3 separate regions of the Homo sapiens genome follow, and regions 2 and 3 are each linked to region 1. The links are contacts of gene promoters, found by promoter capture Hi-C in blood cells and fetal thymus (Javierre and others, 2016). All regions are on one chromosome and are shown on one strand. Each heading gives the region's core, a stretch centred on a gene start or on the middle of the fragment in contact. The rest is flanking DNA. Distances are from core to core; before and after follow the strand shown. Region 1 holds the start of SMCR5 (Smith-Magenis syndrome chromosome region, candidate 5). Region 2 has its middle 13 kb from the start of SMCR2. Region 3 holds the start of RAI1 (retinoic acid induced 1).

What was found. The method cuts DNA at HindIII sites, captures the fragments that hold promoters and counts their contacts. A CHiCAGO score of 5 or more calls a contact.
Region 2: a contact is called between a fragment that was not itself captured here and the fragment with the promoter of SMCR5 in region 1, in 1 of 17 cell types (megakaryocytes). The highest score is 5.6, in megakaryocytes.
Region 3: the fragment with the promoter of RAI1 here is called in contact with the fragment with the promoter of SMCR5 in region 1 in 11 of 17 cell types (megakaryocytes, endothelial precursors, M2 macrophages and 8 more); the score reaches 11.2 in megakaryocytes.

The regions. Positions count from the first base shown.
Region 1 is chr17:17,777,735-17,782,395 of GRCh38, forward strand. It overlaps SMCR5 (Smith-Magenis syndrome chromosome region, candidate 5), which reads right to left and starts at 1,795. Exons shown (of 1, transcript NR_024007.1): 1 at 1-1,795. All of the region lies in intron 2 of RAI1 (retinoic acid induced 1), which reads left to right. The region is part of intron 1 of LOC124903942 (a long non-coding RNA gene); the gene reads right to left. RefSeq lists enhancers at 1,022-1,911, 2,801-3,690. The HindIII fragment of the contact is 16,515 bases long and covers 1-4,661 here.
Region 2 is chr17:17,662,107-17,666,767 of GRCh38, forward strand. No RefSeq gene overlaps it. Among named protein-coding and RNA genes, the nearest start is that of SMCR2, 13 kb to the right of the region's middle. RefSeq lists enhancers at 997-1,086, 1,577-1,716. The HindIII fragment of the contact is 158 bases long and covers 2,118-2,275 here.
Region 3 is chr17:17,679,336-17,683,996 of GRCh38, forward strand. RAI1 (retinoic acid induced 1) reads left to right here and starts at 2,123. Exons shown (of 6, transcript NM_030665.4): 1 at 2,123-2,458. RefSeq lists silencers at 1,844-2,353, 2,384-2,523, 2,584-2,663, 2,675-2,847, 2,834-3,783 and an enhancer at 2,164-2,765. The HindIII fragment of the contact is 10,976 bases long and covers 513-4,661 here.

The DNA of each region.
Region 1 (4,661 bases), core at 545-3,044:
CCACTGTGCCAGTGGGGAAACTGAGGCCCAGAGGGGCCCAGGCCTTGAAGTGATTGCAAGTTCAGCAGCATGAAACTGCTCTTTATCCGTGCACTGCTGTCAGGAACAAATGCTGAATGGAGAGTCCGGAGGGTTGCCCAGGCCACTGCAGGACCCAAGCTCTGAGACTGAGGGCTTGGGGACACAGAGCCAGAGCCTTGTCCTGAAATCCTGGAGGGTGCTCCTTGGACAGGACAAAACTTGTATTCTCTCTCTGAGCCCAGCCTCAGCAGAACCCAGAGTCTTCCAGGGCTGAGATCTTGCCGTACCAGCTGCGGTCACAGACCTGCCACACTGGCTTGACCTGGGAGTTCCTTACAGCTGCAGAACCCCTGTCCCACCTGACCCGCTGCATCAAAATCTGCGTCTCACCAGGATGTACACTTTAATGTTTGAGGAGCACTGAGACTCAGCCAGGATGATACTCTACCTGCCTGCAGGTACAGGCCGCTGCTCTATGGGCAGACCTCAACCCTCAGCCCCAGAATGTCCTCCCCAGCTCTGTCGCAGACATACGTGGCTCCCTGGGAGGCATAGAAAGTACAAGACTTGGACCTGGCTCCCCATGAACTGGTGGCCCTGGAAGTTGCTACCTTTTATTGAGCCCCTGCCAGCTACCAAGCACATTATCCCATTTCGTCCCACAACAGCACTGAAAGTTTGCTGTTTAATTTAGAGTATCTTGCAGCTTAGGCACACAAAGCACAGAGAGGTTAAGTAAACTGCCCAAGGTCACCCAGCATATACATATGCAGGAGCTGGGATATGAATCCAGAGCTGACCCCGGCACCAGAGTCTAGCCATTTACAATCAGAGTGGGCATGGGGGCAGATGGTGGCTCCTCTCACCCCTGAAACCGGAGCCCCAGCCCCTATGAGCCCTCACAGTTCATTGGTCTGGCTGTGGTGAATCTGACCTCTCAAAAGCCTCCCTTTCCGGAGCAGAGGCCTGCGATTCTCCATGCTGGAGAGCCCGCCAAGAGGGATTCTCCTACAACTTTCCAGAACACAGCAGTTCTGGGGCCAGGCCAAGCTAGCTATGTACAGCTGGAAGAGGCTCTCTCCCCCAGATGCTGAGTGACTAGAAGCCAAGAGGGAGGGAGTTCTGGAATGGTCTGCAGCAGCTGGAGGTGAGGCCTGAGGGGGCTGGGGCGGGGCCTGGGAAGAGGGGCCAGTGCACAGAGTATTCTGAACCGCAGAAAGTATTCTGTTCACTCTGGGAGAAAAACAAGAGTGTTGTTCAAAACAGCTGGACGCCAGGCCCAGTTGCCCTCGCCTGGTTTTTACTCTTAAACACCTTCGCATTTCATGGCTGTTCCAAAGAGAGAGAAATCAGCCAGTTGTCCATTCAGACACAAGACAAGGCATCAGCCGACAACCAAAGGCAAATATTTTCCGTGGTGAGGAAAGCCTCCCGGGTGGCCCCAGGCCTGCCTCTGGAGCAGTGGCTGGCTGGTGGCTGGCTCTCCCCGAAGGTCGCTGCTTCTGGTCAGCAGACTGCGTGTCTGGGGGACTGGCCAGGATCCGCACCCACCCAGGGAGCGCTGGGGGCAGCGGGGCGGCCATCCTAGGCCCGTAGTAAATGGAAGCTCCCTTCCTGGCATGAGAGCAGCCAGGCCTCCAGGGAGGCCAGGACAGCGTGGGCCCCACAGTTCCCTGTCTTGAAACCCCAGCCCTTGATATCAAAATGGGACCTGTTAGTCTGTTGTCGGGGAGGGGGATTTAACTGCCCAAAGCTCTTAGGCCCTGAGTGAATTTTTTTCAGCACAACAGTAGCTACACACAGTTGAAGAGTGTGGCACATGGCTACATAGGGTTTGTATTTGGTCTACAGATGAAGGAACAAGACCCATGTGGACTTAGGCCTCATTATCATAATTCTGCAGCCCCAGGAGCCAAATCCCCACATGGAAACCCTTAGTAGGTAGCCTGGCCAAGTGGGTAGCGGGAAATCAGTGATGGTAGGCCCTGGGACTTCTCTCTAGTCCCCTCCCCACCCTTTTTTTTTTTTTTTTTTTTTAATAGACGGAGTCTCGCCCTTGCCCAGGCTGGAGTGCAGTGGCGCGATCTTGGCTCACTGCAGGCTCCGCCCCCCGGGGTTCACGCCATTCTCCTGCCTCAGCCTCCTGCATAGCTGGGACTGCAGGCACCCGCCACCTCGCCCGGCTAATTTTTTGTATTTTTAGTAGAGACGGGGTTTCACCGTGTTAGCCAGGATGGTCTCGATCTCCTGACCTCATGATCCGCCTGCCTCGGCCTCCCAAAGTGCTCGGATTACAGGAGTGAGCCACTCCACCCAGGCTTTTTTTTAAGACAAGAGTTTTACTCTTGTCCCCAGGCTGGAGTGCAATGGCGCAATCTTGGCTCACTGCAACCTCCGCCTCCCAGGTTCAAGCAATTCTCATGCCTCAGCCTCCCGAGTAGCTGGAATTACAGGCGCATGCTACCATGTCAAGTTAATTTTTATATTTTTAGTAGAGACGGGGTTTCAACATGTTTGCCAGGCTGGTCTCAAACTCCTGACTTCAAGTGATCCACCCACCTTGGCCTCCCAAAGTGCTAGGATTACAGGCGTGAGGCATCGCACCCGGCCACCCACCCTTTTTTTCTCCCAAGAAAACCAGTTTTCTGAAATTTTCAGGGGGAACCAGGACCTCCTCGCCCATGTCTTTCACCCCTGGGTGCCTGTATCCTGTATTCACCAAAGCCCCACGGGCATCTCCCCGATTGAGGTCCCACCCCTCAGGGCCTAGGACAGGGGGACCAGGGAGGGCCCCCAGAGGCTGGAGTTTGGAATACCCCCTTCTCTTCTCTGGAGCTCAGTTTGCATGTCTGTGAAATGACAGGTGATGTCACCTCCCAGAAGGGCAGTTTGAGAGAAGTAAAATCTATTGAGGCACCTTGGACACAGGAGGGGGTCAGACGGCATCAGCCTTTGAGGGTGCTGCAGTTACACGGCTCCAGCAGTCTGAGCCTTATCAAGACCTTTCCAGATATGAGGGAAGTCCATGCCCAGTGTCTAGCTGGCTGGGGGAGAAGCCCCTTGAGAACCCCCACTCTGTAATGCTAGGCTCTGCATTTGCTTAGGAGGCTGTGTCCCTGTCTCTCCCCTTCTGGGCCAGCCTTGCTTTCTGGGCAGGCCCAGGAGTGTCCCGGGCCCAGCACTCAGAGTCAGCGCTGTCTTTAATCTGTATTCCACAGGCATCCTCACCCCCTCCCCTCCCAGGAGCTAGGAACCTGCCAGGCTTCTTACCTCTCTGCTGGAATCTCCACCCCCCACCAGAGGCTGCCCTCTTGGGGAAGGGGCCCAGCCCTTGAGGCCTGTCTCCTCCAGACTAGCTAAACCACAGAGAGAACTCCATCTCAGGTTCCCAAATAGGCGGTATTCTTCCCCGCCACCAAGCTAGGCAGCTCCTGGCGGCTGGAATGCCCTGCTCCTTTCTCAGCCCACCACTTCCTCCAACCTTCCGTCCTCTGTGCTGCAGCAGGGAGTCTTACCCCACCTCCTTCAGGAGGGAGGTGCTCACGGGTTCCTATGCCTGTGGGTCTCCAGGATTGGGCACGGAGCAGTCTGCAAAATGTCAAGTGAGGGAGAGATCCAGTCAAAGCCCCAGGGGGGCCTCTGAGCTCAGTCAGCTCCTCTGCTGCTCCCCACCTCTTGGGGGAAGGACAGGCTGGGGTTTGCATGGGTGGCCTTTTGGAGAGCAGAGTAATGGGAGCCTACTTGAACTTCCTGCGGCCTCATTCCCTGACTGGGGGCGGAGGGTAGTCTGAGCTGCTGGCCTGGGGTGCTTGGCCGCAGGGGAAGGGGCTGGGAGGGAGGGGTCTGGGTGAGTCTAAGGGAGGGTGAGCCTGAAAAGGGGACGGCAGCACTAAACTGCCTTCGGGGAGTCCCCACTGTGCGCCCCTGGCACTTTCCCAGTCCCCTGGCGCGGTCGCAGGCACGGGTGGGGTCTGCCTCAAAGTTGTTGGTACGGCCAGCCCGCTGCTGTTTAAATGGTGTGTTTGTTTAGAGCGGCTTAGGGAGGGAACTGGAAATGGGGGGCGGGGGCAGCGCCCCACTTGGCGCCACCGCTGCCGGAGGGTCTGCGTGTTAGAAGCCCCAGCTTCGTAAATGACCGAAGAAGGGTGGGCGTTGAGGAGGGAAGGCCGAAAACCAACGGAGGGCTCGGGGCCCCGGGCCGGCCGCCCCCTTTTTGCGGGGGGAGAGCAGGAGCCGCCTCTCGCAGCCACTCTGCGCGCGGGGTGGGAGGGAGAGAGGGAGGCGAAGGGACGACAGCGCCGGGCTCCCCGCCCCCATCCCACCCGGTTCCAATATTTCGCAGAAAGGCACGCGGCTCCTAATCGGTCTTTTCCAGGCTGAGATTTAGCCGTGCGATGCCCGCGCAGGGGCGGGGGCCGCGGGCCAGGGGAGGCGCTCAGAGTCCGGAGCCGCCGAGCGAGGTGAGGAGCCCGCGTCCTCGGCTGGTGGAGCGGGCGGGCGGGCGCGCAAACCCGAGAGGCAGATATAGAAAGGGGGGCAGGTTAAAAATAACCCTCTCCGGCTGGGAAGCTCGCGCGCGCTCTCTCGCCTCGTTCGGTGCCAGAGGACTCCAGGGGAGGTGGCGTTGGGGAGGGCAGAGC
Region 2 (4,661 bases), core at 947-3,446, 120 kb before region 1:
TCCTGCAGCCTACAGCCTTTCAAGGCTGGCTACTTTTGCTCAGCATAATCCACTTAAGATTCACTGATATTTTTGTACGTACCAGTAGCTTGTTCCTTTTTTTTGAGACGGAGTTTCACTCTTGTGGCCCAGGCTGGAGTGCAATGGCACGATCTCAGCTCACTGCAACCTCCGCTTCCTGCGTTTAAGCGATTCTCCTGCCTCAACCTCCCAAGCAGCTGGGATTACAGGCATGCACCACCAAGCCTGGCTAATTTTGTATTTTTAGTAGAGACAGGGTTTCTCCATGTTGGTCAGGCTGGTCTCAAACTCCTGATCTCAGTGATCTGCCCGCCTTGGCCTCCCAAAGTGCTGGGATTACAGGCATGAGCCACCGCGCCTGGCCATTTGTTCCTTTTTATTGACAAATACTATTTCCTTGTCTGGACATACCGCATGTTGCCTCTCCATTCATCAGTGGATGAACAATGGGCTGTTTTCACCAGTGCACTTGCCTTGGAATCCACAAACTGCAAATGGCAGTGGCCTTGCCCATCCCACCCACACCGCTGCAGTGCGCGGCCTGCTCGTTGGGCCACAGATACATGAACCTCCACCTGCCTCAGGGCCTCTGCACTTACTGTTGCGATGCTTGCGATGCTCTTCCCATGACTCTGGCCTCCTTCCTCAGAACCTCTGCTCATAAGTCACCTCTCTGACCACCCTGTCCTCAGTTTCCACCCCATCACTCTCTGTGCCCTCCTCCTGCTGTTCCTTCTCCCAGCACCCACTGGAGTCTCTGGTTTTGTTTGCTTGTTTGTGTATTGTCCATCTCCCACCAGACTGGAGACTGGAGACCCTCAGCGGAGGAAGTCTCTGTTCATGGCTGTATCCCCAGGGCCTGACACAGAGTGGACTCTAAATATGAGTTGAGTGAGCAGCTGCTGGTACAGGATCACAGGAGGATTAAATGAAATAGCGAGTGTGAGTGCCCTTTGCAACCTGCTGTGCTTATTGAGGGGGAAACAGGCTGAGAAAGGTGCAGTGACCAACCCAGGGCCACCAGGTCAGAGCGATAGACACCCAGGCCTACACCCCTCCCTGGGCCACCCTCCTGTCCACCCTGCCTCAGGGCCAGCGTTCCTAAGGCACATTACACACACACACAGCCCACAGACACCCAGACCGCACACACAGCTCAACACCACACACAGACAAACGCCCTCAATGCAGACATGCCCAGCCTTGCACACACAGGAAGTCCACACACAAACACCAGCACACTGCCTTGAACACGCAGGAATAGCATTCACACGCCCATCCCCCTACACAAACACACAGGCCACACCCACACGCCAAAACACACCCCCAGCGTCAGACCTTGATGACTGACAGCCCAGGACTCCAGTGGGCTTGCGTCGCCATAACAACAGACGGCTCCGAGTCTTGGGCTGTGAGTGTGGTCGGGCTGTGAGTCACAGCTGCAGCAGACGCTCCGCAGAGCAGGAGCAGCCTGGCCCAGTGCGGACTCCCCAGTGCCAACCTCTTATGGACGCAGAGTGGACCCTCTCAGATGGGTGTGCAGTGTCCATTAGCATTACCCACAGGAGGGATGTGGCCCTCAGGTGTCCCCTGTGTGCCACACACTGGCGTGCGCCCAGAGCTTCACACACATTTTCTTGCTTAATCCTCGTGGTGTCCTCACCAAATCAGTGTGGCCAGGGAGACCATTTTACAGATGTTGAAACTGAGGTTCAGGTAGGGGAAGTCCCTTGCCTCACTCAGGTCACACAGTGAGTCACCACCAGGCCTGAAATTTGAATTCAGGTCTACTGAACCATGAAGGGTCCTCTTTCCACTGCCCTGAATCCAATCCAGGGGAGCTCCCAGCTGTGCACACCATTTCCAGACAAGAGCAATAGATTATCAGCTCTCACTTGCACCAGAGTTGGTTCTGCCCTTGTAGAGCTCCCTTGGTAGGTAGTGAGATCCCCATCATGAGCAGCATCCAAGCAGAGACTGTCATAGCTGCTATGGAGAAGCATCAAGTATCAGGGGACAAGGGGTTGGACCAGACGGCCTGGCTTTGAGTTGTAAATGACAAAAAAAATTATTGGCAAACAAAACAGGAATATAAAAGCTTCAGGAACAGCTGGATCCAGCTGTCAGATGTCATCAGGAATCTTCTTCTGGATTTCCCCTTCCTTGGGGTTCACTTTCTTCTCAGAATAACCTTCCCTAGCCTAGGGTAGACCTCACAGCTGCAGGCTTACATCGGTCGTGGCCCCCAAAAGCAAGCTTAATAGATGTTTGTCAGATGAATGCTAGAAGCATGATAAGGTTGCGGGTCTCAGTCTAAGTAAATCCCAACTTGACCTCTGGGAGTCACTCTGAGGAGGCGCAGTGCTCATTCCTGTGTGCCAAATCCCATCATCTCTCAAACGTCGTATGATTGAGTTAGATTGTACTATGCACTTCACAGACATTAACTCATGGAAATCCCAGGCAGCCCTATGCAGTGGTCACAATCTCCATCTCATGGACGGGGACACAGGGTCCCAAAGAGGCAAAGTGTGGTACCTGAGGTAGGGCTAGAGCCACACAGTGCCTTACCAGGCTGAGATCAGGAGGCCGTACCTCTGAACGAGGGCAGGACTGTTCTTCACAGGCAGCTTTCCTCCAAGGAGGCAGAGGACGGCACTGGCACGTTCACTCAGCAGCCAACATTGGCAAGCACCCACTCTACCCCGTGGCCCGGGGTGCCACTGCCCATGGAGCTTGGAGGTGCCAACTGCTGCCAGTGACCTTGGGTAAGTCATTTTGTGCTTGATCCTTGCATCCCCATCTGTAAATGGGCAGGTCACCCCACTCAGAGGGGCAGAACTCATGTCAGTGGTTGAACGCTTCTGGCAGTACAGCCCAATAGAACTTCCTATACCAGGTCCCACAGGGTGGCCACACACCGCTCCTGAACACCAGAAAGTGACTAGTATAATAATAACAATTTTAAAGGCCGGGCGCGGTGGCTCATGCCTGTAATCCCAGCACTTTGGGAGGCCAAGGTAGGCGGATCACAAGGTCAGGAGTTCAAGACCAGCCTGGCCAACAGAGTGAAACCCTGTCTCTACCAAAAATACAAAAATTACCCGGGTGTGGTGGCATGTGCCTATAGTTCCAGCTACTAGGGAGGCTGAAGCGGAAGAATCGCTTGAACCCGGGAGGTGGAGGTTGCAGTGAGCTGAGACCGCACCATTTGTACTCCAGCTTGGGTGATAGAGTGAGACTCTAAAAGAAACACACACACACACACACACAATTTTAAGTTTTATTTCTTTTAAATTGATTGAAATGTACCTAGCTACACGTGGCTAATGACAACCATATTGAGCAGCAAAGCTCCAGGGTTCTAGACAAACAGCAGATATTAATTTTGGTTTTGTTCTGTTTTACTAACCCCACCCCATGCTCCAGTGCAGGCAGCCTGGTCCCTAGCTTGTCTCAGAGAGCTTTGCTGGCCTCCTTTGCCAGACCCGGTGGCCAGACTCATCATGGCCTTGGGACCTTTGTGTGGCTCTGGAGAAGAAAGAAGCTCCCAATAATGGCTGAGATTCAGTTGCCCACCAGCCAGCAGGATAGGGGCTTAGAACAGGATGTAAGATGATTTAAAGAAAAAAAGGGGCTGGGCGTGGTGGCTCATGCCTGTAATCCCAGAATTTTGGGAGGCCGAGGAGGGTGGATCACTTGAGGTCAGGAGTTCGAAACCAGCTTGGCCAACATGCTGAAACCCCATCTCTACTAAAAATACAAAATAATTAGCCGGGCGTGGCAGCCGGCGCCTGTAATCCTAGCTACTTGGGAGGCTGAGGCAGGGGAATCGCTTGAACCCGGGAAGTGGAGGTTGTAGTGAGCCGAGATCACACCACTGAACTCCAGCCTGGGTGACAGAGTGAGATCCATCTCAAAAAAAAAAAAAAAGAAAAAGAAAAAAGGAAGCTGGCTGTTTCTGGCACACCTGGGTTTTCCACTGGGTCTATACCAGGTGCACAAGTGCCTACTCCCCACCTCTATACCCGCACAACCCACCACGTGGACATGCACCAAACACACCCCCCAGCTGTGTGTGGACACAAGCAGCCAACACATGCTCTGTGGCTTACTCCTCCCATGCTCCTGGGCCTGGGCTGAGGGTCCAGCAGTTCACAGAACATCCACGTGGTCTGGGCTTCCAGAGCCTGTCCATCCTCCATCCCCTCTACCTGCCCAGGATCCCCGGGCCCCTGCTGGCCTACAGGAGTAAATGGCCACCTGCACACCCTACACACTCACGCCCAGCTCTGGATGGACATGAGGCAGGGCGAGGTCTGGGCGGTAGCCAGGAAATCCTAAGCTGTGAGTGTTCGTTCCCTGTTGCTGCTGTAAAGAGTTACTACACATGTCGGGGCTTAGAACAGCAGAAATGATTCTCTTGCAGTTCTGGAGACTGGGTGTCCAAAATCAGTATCACTGGTCTCGAGTCATGGCGTCTGTGGGGCTGTGCCCCCTCGGAGGCGCCAGGGGAGAACCTGTGCAGGGCCCCTTGCAGCCTCAGCCAGCTGCCCTGGTGATCCCTGGCTGTGTTTGCATCACTCTGGTCTCTGCCTCGGTGGCCGCGCAGTCTCCTCCTCCGTGCTTGTGTTGTCGAG
Region 3 (4,661 bases), core at 873-3,372, 98 kb before region 1:
ATGCTTTCCACACGTACCTCATTCAATCCTCTCAACAGACCCATGAGGTAGGTACTATTATCCCCATTCTACAGATGAGGAAACGGAGGCTCAGCAAGTTAAGTAGTTTGCCCAAAGCCACCCAGCTGGGCATAGAGGAGCCACGTTTAGAAACCAGATTTGCCAGGCGCGGTAGCTCATGTCTGAAATCTCAGCACTTTGGGAGTCCGAGGCAGGTGGATCACCTGAGGTCAGGAGTTCAAGATCAGCTTGACCAACATGGAGAAACCCTGTCTCTACTAAAAATACAAAATTAGGTGGGTGTGGCGGTGCATGTCTGTAATCCCAGCTACTCGGGAGGCTGAGGCAGGAGAATTGCTTGAATCTGGGAGGCAGAGGTTGTGGTGAGCCAAGATCGCACCATTGCACTCCAGGCAGGGCAACAGGGGCAAAACTCCGTCTCAAAAAAAAAATACATAAATAAATAAATAAAAATAAACCAGATCTGTCATCCAGAAACCGCACTTAAAACAAGCTTAAAACAACACAGTTCGCACTGGGATCCAGCTCTGTCTTGCTCTTGACATTCACCCTGGGAGACGGGTAGCCAAGTCCAGTAGGAAGGACTGTGGGGACCTGTGTTGATTCTGTCCTGTAGCTTGAGAACCTGGACAGGGGACTTCACCACTCTGCGCCTGTTTCCTCATCCACAAAATGTGATGAGCCGACCTCACAGAGGGGGCACCAGGATCTAATGAGACCATGCACAGAAGGGGCACAGCAGGCCTGGGACAGAGTGAGGGCCCCCCATCTATCACAATACCTTATTTTGCAGATGCAGGATTCACTTGTCCCAGGTCACCCACAAGCTCTGATGCCTTGACCAGCTCCCCTCTGCCCTACCAAAGGACAAATGAGGGAGGCTTCGATGGGGCTGTTAATGGGGTCATATCCCACAGACCCTAGAGCCTGGGTGGGGCTGAGAGGCTTCCCAAGCAGGTGGCAGTGAGCTCCCACCTGAGCTATGGCAAGTAGAGACCTAGGCATGAAATTGCTCCGAGGTCTGTACCTTAAGTTTCATGCAAGGACTCTCTCATTCAACATGCCTCTGTTTAAAGTCTGCCAGTGGCTACCTTCCTTGCACTAGAATTGCAAACAAATTCCTCACTGAGCTCTCTGCAGCCCTGCAGGCTCTGGCCCTCCCGATATGGCTCTGACTTCAATGTGCCCATTACTTGTCCCCTTGCTGACGGCCTCCTCACAATTCCACTTACTCACCAAGTTCTCTCCTGCCTCAGGACCTTTGCACTTGATGTTCTTTCTGCCAATGATGCTCTTCCCAGGAGGGCAGGCCCCTGTAGTCCCAGCTACTCAGAAGGCTGAGGTGGGAGGACTGTTTGAGGCCAGGAATTCAAGTTCGGCCTGGGCAACACAGCAAGACCCTGCCTCTAAAAGAACAAAATGCTCTTCCCAGACTCTACCCATGGCGGTTCCTCTTGCTATTTAGATCTTTGCACAGACAGGCCTCCTTCTCTCTCCCCCAGCCAAGGAGCCCTAGCCGTCACTTCACCTGCTAATTTTCGTCCTAGCACTTACTGCTCTAAAATTATCTTCGTCATGTATCTAAGCATTTGTTTGCTGTCTGTCTCTTCCCACCAGGATGCCAGCTCCACGACAGCAGGGACCGCATTGTCTCTGCTGATTCCTCAAGACTCAGCAAGGTGCCAGGTGCCCAGTAAATGAAGTTTACATGAAGCCAATGGAGTTTTGAAATCGAAAATGTTTCTCAAACTGCAAAGAAGTGGGCACAGGTGAGGGCTAATGGTGGGGTGAGGGTGGGGGCCTGGCCTGACGCTGGAAGCTCCTGTACGCAGGGCGCTAGTGTCCTCCCAGGCCGCACCGGGATCCCACCGCAGAGGCCCCCTCCCGCAGGCCGGCCAGCGGGCGGGGGGCGCGCAGTGGGGCGCGCGGACCGCCAGGGGGTGCTGTCGGGGCGCGCACGGCCCACCTGGCGCCCGGGGCCGCGAGCGAGCGCAGCCAGGCCGCCCGGGAACTTTTTTCCTCGCGCTCTTGCTCTCCTTCTCCCCCCGCGCGTCGCCCGCCCGCCCGTCCGCTCGTCCGCTCTTCCTGTGCGGAGGGGATCGCATTCCTCGCGGCACCCGCGGACACCAGGCAGGCCCGGCCGGGTGCGCGGCCAAGGCCCGCTCCCCGCGTCCCCGGGCGCCGCCCCCGCCCGCGGCTGGGCTCCGAGAGACGAGTGGGAGAGCGAGTGCAGCGAGGGCGAGAGGCGAGCCGAGCAGGCCGCCCTGCCCGCGGCCCTAGCGCCGGCGCGAGGAGGGGGCGCCGCGGCCCACCCTCCTTCCTGCCTGGCCGCGGGCCGGCCGGGCCGCCGCGCCCCGACCCCCATGGCCACCCAGGCCTCCGGGCCGCGAAGTCGCAGCGCCAGACCCAAGGCCCCCGAGTGAGCGCGGGCGCCGAGGTGAGCAGCGAGCGCCGGGGCGCGGGGGGCGCAGTGTATCCTGCCCCGGGGCGGGGGCGGCGCGAGGCGTCGGGATCCTAGGCCGGGTGATGAGCCGAGGCGGGTTCGGACGCCGAGCGCGCGCGCTGGGTGGAGATGTGGGGTCCGCGGGGTCCTTGCTTTGTGTGGTGTGGGGGGTGCGCGAGGTCACCGGATGGACGTCTGGGGAGCTGCAGGGTGGGGGCGCCCTGCGCCGCGGCTGAGGGTCTTCTGGGGGATGTGCGGCCAGCTGAGGTCGGGTGGGGGCATGGGGGCGCGAGGGGCGAGTGTGGCAAGGGATCTGCTTGCGCCGAGGCGCGGAGTCTTTGCGGAGCGTGGGGTGGGGACGTGGGGTGCATTCGCGGGGCGCCGGGGGCGGAGGTGAGCTTTGTGAGTGCGTCCGAGGTGGGGGACGGGGAGCTGACTTCCCCATGCGTGACCCGGGCCCGGCGTGGCCATCGCTTGGGAGTCAGGGCCGGCGAAGGCCGTGCGTGGCGAGATGGGTGCTCGGGCTCTCTGCGGTGTCCCTACCCGGGCAGCGGCCCCGGGGCCTGTGCGCAGGCCCCGAGGCCGGGCAGGAAGCGGCCCCCGCGACCTGGGGAGCTCTGTAGCGGCCAGGCCCGGGAGGCACGGGCCCTTCGGGGATGACGTCACGGGCGGGGGCCCCGGACACGCGAGCCTTGCGCCCCACAGACGGCGGCGCAGCCCGCCGCCCTTTTCGAGGCCGGCCCCCCCTCTCACGCGCCTTGAAGGCAGGGAACCCGGGAGGAGGACATGGGGGCCGAGTGCGGCGGGGACAAGGGGTGGCAGGACGCGAGGGTGACATTTGGAGCCTGGTCGCGCCAGGGGCCTCCGTGGTGGGGCGGAGGGGAAGCGAAACACCAGCCAGGCCCTAGGCCGTCGCGGCCCCAGCTTCCTGGGGCGCCCGTTTTCCCGGCTAGCAGTTTTCTTTCTTGGGGCTCTTGGTCGTTATCCAGTCCACGCAGGGGCCGGAGTGCGGGCTGCCGCGGTGCTCTCCTGCGCGGAGCCCGGGCTGGCGGGGGCGCGGCGGGCCTCGGGCTCTGAATGGATGGGAGCGAGTGTAACAATGCGCCGGTGGGGGCTGGGGGAGGGGAGGCCGCGCGCCTGAATGGCGGAGCCGGCCGGGCGCTGCTCCGCGCGCCGCACACTCTCCCGCGCCGCCTTCCCCGCGGTTTCGGCGGGCCCGGATTCAGGGACCCACTCGGGATCTGCACGGTTCCTCCCACCAATACTGTCCCCCGCCCCCCTTTTATGTCTTTCCAATGCAGTAGTGTGTTGAGAATTCAAGGGCATTACATCTGGTTGCAATCCAGTTTCATGCCGCTGCCGGGCTGTTAAGACCTCGCGCTGACGTCAGAGCAGGGGAATTACTTCTTTTTATTTTATCTTTTTTTAGTTGTCTGCTGCCCTGGGAGGAGAGGCGGGGGTGGGTTAGGCTAGCTCTGATGTGGAGGCGCCAGCGTGATGGGAGCCCCGAGCTGGGGGCTCTGCTTCTCTTCCTGCCCCTGCCCCCCTCCATTCTCCATACAGTCCTCGCTCTGCTCAGGGTCAGGCCCACCCCAGGTGGGGGGCAGCCCTCGCTGCAGACTGAATGGTGGCCCCTCCCTGCTGACCACACAGCTGGGTTTTCAGAGGCTTTCCTGGGACGTGGCCCTCGGGATCTAGAAACTGGAAAGGAATCTTCTAGTTTCCCACCCCTCCCCCTCTTGACAGGCAAGCCGGTATATTCGGGGCCCAGGAGCAAGGAAAAGTGGCCTTTTGCGTGACACAGAAGTGGACACATCATTCTGATCTCAGGGCAGGCTCAGCCCCATAACTCTGGCAAAAGCTCTCACAAGCAAAAGCCTTGGAGAGGAGGAGAATGTATCAAGGTGAGATCCAGGCCCCAGAAGCCAACTGTGGAGTGGGCAAAATAGGACCTTTCCCACCAGCCTAGCATCCCTCTGGCTTCTGTGGAGATAAAGGGAACTCAGGGGTACTGGAGCTGCCTTTCTCTTCCACTAGACTGTGGGGCTCTCATAGGCAGGGACCCTGTCTTACTCCTCTTTGTTTTATTTTTGAGACAGGGTCTTGCTGTGTGGCCCAGGCTGGAGTGCCTTGGCACAAACACAGCTCACTTCAGCCTCAACCTCCAGGGCTCAAGCGATCCTCCAGCATCAGTCTC